2 separate regions of the Homo sapiens genome follow, and region 1 is linked to region 2. The links are contacts of gene promoters, found by promoter capture Hi-C in blood cells and fetal thymus (Javierre and others, 2016). All regions are on one chromosome and are shown on one strand. Each heading gives the region's core, a stretch centred on a gene start or on the middle of the fragment in contact. The rest is flanking DNA. Distances are from core to core; before and after follow the strand shown. Region 1 overlaps LOC105372775 (a long non-coding RNA gene). Region 2 holds the start of KRTAP13-1 (keratin associated protein 13-1).

Evidence for each region. The method cuts DNA at HindIII sites, captures the fragments that hold promoters and counts their contacts. A CHiCAGO score of 5 or more calls a contact.
Region 1: a fragment that was not itself captured here is called in contact with the fragment with the promoter of KRTAP13-1 in region 2 in 1 of 17 cell types (M2 macrophages); the score reaches 5.5 in M2 macrophages.

The regions. Positions count from the first base shown.
Region 1 is chr21:31,014,480-31,017,179 of GRCh38, forward strand. It overlaps LOC105372775 (a long non-coding RNA gene), which reads right to left. Exons shown (of 3, transcript XR_937658.1): 3 at 1-289. Among named protein-coding and RNA genes, the nearest start is that of KRTAP19-8, 23 kb to the right of the region's middle. The HindIII fragment of the contact is 2,489 bases long and covers 28-2,516 here.
Region 2 is chr21:30,394,777-30,397,476 of GRCh38, forward strand. KRTAP13-1 (keratin associated protein 13-1) reads left to right here and starts at 1,255. Exons shown (of 1, transcript NM_181599.3): 1 at 1,255-2,046. The coding sequence starts at 1,311. The coding sequence ends at 1,829. The region is part of intron 3 of LOC105372772 (a long non-coding RNA gene); the gene reads right to left. RefSeq lists an enhancer at 1,111-1,612. The HindIII fragment of the contact is 9,188 bases long and covers 1-2,700 here.

The DNA of each region.
Region 1 (2,700 bases), core at 22-2,521, 620 kb after region 2:
ATCCATAATAAGAGTAATGCTTATATAAGCTTCTTCAATCGTTCTCTGCCTTAGCCTCGTTAGAATCTGAAGAGAAAGACCTCTAGATGTCCTCTTATCTCTGAGGGGATTAGAAAGTGCAAAAAGAAAAAAAGAAAAGTCCCTCACAGACAGTGTTCGTTTATCCACAGTTCATCTCCAATCAAAAAAGATCATTTTAACAAATCAGCTTGTAAACCTCTCCATCATGGTTCTCCCACCTTCTTCATCTGTTCTGTTTATCTTTGCATAGATTTCCTCCAAAGAAGTCCTAAAGGATCAAAAAAACTTTTTTAATGAATATTTCAAAGTATGATTGAACAAAGCAACAGCTTTTGAAAAAAATTATACAGACTTTCCTTACTGTGACTGTTGGACCTGCTGTCTTTCTCAAGGGTTATATTTTTGTTTACATTTTACTTAGGTTTCCTTGGGATTTCATTTTGATGTGTGAGTTTTAGTGTGTGTTCCCGTAGCTCAGGGACAAGGATGGAGCTAATAGAGAGCAGAATTGTAAATCGGGTGTTTTCTCTAACACATTTGTAAGAGTGTGCTAGAATACTCCTGTGCTGGTATCTCTATCTCTTGCCAGCTGTGACCCATCTTGTGTGCACCCAAGCAGATATTTTGTCAGGAGGCCCATGAACCACACTAGTGTTCACTTTGTCTTGGAGTAAAGATTTTTCTTTCTCCTTTGCCTGCAACAGCATACATTTATACTGTCAAATCATATATTTTGTTCCTAAAGATGTCTTCATTTCTTTTTCTAATTCCACAGCAATCTGCTGATTTAACTCACGTCTCTAAGAGGTGACAGTTCAAGGAATCTGGTACATACAACCTGATATTTATAATCAGTTCTACTAATGGCTGCTTCAGTAAGTCTACTCTTGTTGATAATATTTCAGAAAATGAATGATTGTCAGACTACTTAAAATTGCATTTGTAACCAACAAATAAATATTTGAAAGCCTTGCTGCAAACTATGTACACTGAGAGGCCCTTCAAAGAAAATAGACACTCAGAAAGCCTTTCTTAAGTATTTGCAATCCTTTTTTTAATAAGATAAATTAGAATTTTATTTTATTTTATTTTATTTTATTTTTAGCGAGAGACAGGGTCTTGCTCTGTCACCCAGCCTGAAGTACAGTAGTACAATCATAACTCACTGCAGCCTCGACCTCCTGGGCTCAAGTAATCCTCCTTACTCAACTTCCCAAGTAGCGGAAACTACAGGCACACACCACCACACTTGGCTAGGTTTTTTTTTAATTTTTTGTAGAGATGGGGTCTTGCTATGTTGCCCAGGCTGGTTTCAAACTCCTGGACTCAAGCAATCTTCCCACCTTTGCCTCCCAGAGTGTTGGGATTAAAGGTGTGAGCCACCACATCTGGCAAATTAGAATTTTTAAGTAGGGCAAAGATGTATAGACTGCAGAAATATATTTTATTTATATGCTAATGTTATATTTCATCATATAAACTTTTGGGTCAGGCGTGGTGGCTCATGCCTATAATTCTAGCACTTTGGGAGCCTGAGGCAGGAGGATCACTTGAGGCCAGGAGTTCCAGACCAGCCTACCCAACATGGCAAAACCCCATCTCTACTAAAAATACAAAAATTAGCCAGGCATGGTGGCATATACCTGTAATCCCAGCTACTCGGGAGGCTGAGGCAGGAGAATTGCTTAACCCAGCAGGTGGAGGTTGCAGTGAGCCGAGATTGCATCACTGCACTCCAGCCTGGACAACAGAACAAGACTCCATCTCAAAATGAACCAACAAACAAAACAAACTTTTGGATTTTATTAAATCTACAAATAAAGACCAGAAAACTTCCTTGTGGAACCTATGCTCACCTATAACTGTTGTGAATGTTCAAATCACAGTTAACGTCCAGTCATACTTTTAAATGTACTTCTAACATTTTGTTTCCATGAAAATGTTTTTGCCTTATTAAGACTTGCTTAAAATAGCCTGTCCAAGCCTTTGTTTCTTGATCTGCAAAACTTAGAGAATTGGACTAACAGTTAAGAGGCATTTTAATTCCTTTATTCTTTTTACTGACCTGCATGTTTATCTTCTTGTGATCTAGTTGTTGCTATTCTTGCTTTAAAATTTCACATTATATTTCTTCAATTAAAATGTAAGCTCTTGGGAGCAGAAATCATACCATGTCTGTTTTATATATCAGCCTCAGTTTGATTTTGCTGCTATAACAAAATGAGACTAAGTAATTTACAAAAAGAGAAATACATCTCTTACAGTTCTGGAGGCTGAGAAATCCAAGATCAAGGCACCAGCAGATTCCATGCCTGGTGAGGGCTGTTCTCTGCTTCCAAGATGGCACCCTGTTCCTACATCCACACCTGGCAGAAGAGATGAATGCTGTGTCTTCAAACGACAGAAAATGGAAGGCCAAAAAGGGGTGCAGCTAGTTCCTTCCATCCCTTTTATAGTGGTTTTTGAGGTGGTTAACACCTCATTCATGAGGGTGAAGCTTTCACGACCTAGTCACCTCTCAAGGCCTACCTTTTAATATCATCACCTTGGGGTTTACATTCCAACATACGAGTTTTGGAGGGATGCATACATTTAAACCACAGCAATCCCCTATAGTGGTGCTACTGAAAGTACTGGGCCTCAAACTATTTGTTACTGGTCCCTGATGAGGTCAGGAGC
Region 2 (2,700 bases), core at 5-2,504:
GTCATAAAAAATAATTCAAGTATTTTTGATGTACTATTTCTAAAAGAAACACCAAGTTTTACTTCCATTTGTTCTACAGAAAATCATGTGGACAAAACCATTGTCATGTGTAGAGATGATCAAAGACCGACTATGCAACCAAAAAATGTAGAAAAAGATTATAGATGAGGATGATGATAAAGGTATATTATTGTCTTGATTTTGTGACATCTTGGGTTTTGTTAACTATGGAAGTTTTTATTCTAAGTTAATATCCATGTTTATATCTATTATTATATTCCTAATATTGTGTTTTTAATGAGGATCTCCAAATTATACTTTTCAACACCACAAAACCTAAATCCACCTCTTTAAAGAGGGCTGGGACAGAGTCACGAAAAACATAGAAGCTGGTGTTACCCCGCAAATGCTCAGAAGGCAGTCAACATTTTGAGGTGGGGGTTTAGAGGTGTTGTAGACAGGTAGGCTCCAGAACACTTACAAATATGAATGCATCATACAAAAGTCATCAAATAAGTTTATTTGAAAGCATTTTGATTTGCTTTTAGGATGGAGTCCTGAGCATCCTTCTGCTATTGTGACTACTCTGACTTGTTTCCTACCTCATCTCAGCAGTGTCTTCTACTTTCCTTTTTTTCACATGGGTCCTTATTGTTGTATTTGTATTTATTTATTTTTTGCTTTTGTTTTGATTTCTTTTTTCTAAATACTAATTTTTTAAAAAAATTTGTTCAAGATGATATCTATGTCTAGTTATCTCTCAATTCCTTTGGCTTACTTTTATATAGGCCCTCGAGACTGGACTTACAAGCACTGATTATAGTAAATAACAGATGGCAAACTATTTTGGAGAGTGTGAACAATAAGATTTCTGCCTCTAGGCCACTGACAAAAAAAGATGAATACATTGCTATCCCCACCCAAGACAGAAAGAATTTCCCAGCCAAAACAGGAGCAGATGTATAAATCATGGGCAGAGAAAATAAGAGGGGTTTTCCTGGACATAATGGAGTAGGGACTAATCACATACTGTCATAGCATTTGTAACATAAATGCATTTCATTGACGCAGAGCTGTAAAAACAAAAGGAGTTCTTCCATAAATATAAGATGAAGGGTGTTAGTTAACTGCAATGACAAAGAAGATTACTAAGTTGCTTATATGAAATGTGGGAGCTTAAATGTGTGAAGGATGACCCTGTAAGGTGCCACACCCACGGCTGAACGTATATAAATGGTCCTGTCCAGATGTGGCATGCAAACTCAGAATCTTCTCAGTGTAACTCAGCTGAACTCACATCTCCCATCAACATGTCCTACAACTGCTGCTCTGGAAACTTCTCCTCCCGCTCCTGTGGTGGCTACCTGCACTACCCAGCCTCCTCCTGTGGCTTTTCCTACCCCAGCAACCAGGTCTACAGCACTGACCTCTGCTCTCCCAGCACGTGCCAGCTGGGTTCCTCTCTCTATAGGGGCTGTCAGCAGACCTGCTGGGAGCCCACCAGCTGCCAGACATCCTATGTGGAGTCCAGCCCCTGCCAGACCTCCTGCTACCGTCCCAGAACCTCCTTGCTCTGCAGTCCCTGCCAGACAACTTACTCTGGGTCTCTAGGCTTTGGATCCAGCAGCTGCCGCTCCCTGGGCTATGGATCGAGGAGCTGCTACTCAGTGGGCTGTGGGTCCAGTGGCTTCAGATCCCTGGGTTATGGAGGCTGTGGCTTCCCTTCCCTGGGCTATGGCGTTGGATTCTGCCGCCCAACCTACTTGGCTTCTAGGAGCTGCCAGTCTTCTTGCTACAGACCAACTTGTGGATCAGGCTTCTACTATTGATCATCTTGTTAAATTGCTGATTTTGTTGGCTAATGCCTTCAATGCCTCTACTCATAACCTTTATTGTCTTCATCATGTACAGAAAGAATTAGCCTCTTATTCTATAATTATCAAGTTCTCAGTTTGTCTTTGTCCCCAAATACTGGCTGGCAGGCTTCATCTGAAAAACTGTAATTGGAGAACTAGCTCAAAATAAATCTTGAAATACACATTAAAAGTAGAATTTATATTATTCGATTTTCTTCCACAATTGTATAAAAAGTCAAATCATTTTAATCCAATAAATCCATTGGTCTCATATTCAGCTATGTTTGTGGTGGTTTTATATTGCTAGGGTTTTGGTTGTGATGTATTAGGCAATTATTATGAAACAATTGGTGTATATATATAGGAATAGGTTTCAAAATCATATGAAGTTTGCGATTCAGACAAACTTTTGGGGGCCTCAGAGATTTTTGTTATTCAAACTACAGGTAGTGGAAGTCTACTAAATTTACAGACTTTTATTCATTAAAATATCAGAATCAGGAATTAGCTTGATCCCCTTATAAAATGTGGATTCTTGTGTCTATGCCAACAAGCATAAGGTAGCAAACTAGTTGATAGTTATATCAGGAATCTGCAGAGAAAAAAATACTATTTAGAACAATATGGTTATAGATATACATAAAAGAAAAATGGAATTGAAGAGAAACAAAAGTGATTTGAAGTAACTTTTGAAGTCACCCAATATTTGTTGGTAATCATGATCAAATGCCTGCATCTCATTGATGAGAATTCAATATGATTCAGTTATCTACATATGTGTAATAAGGGATACCATGAAACTTGAATGGAGGATTGATATTCCACCTTGGTTTGTATTCATGTT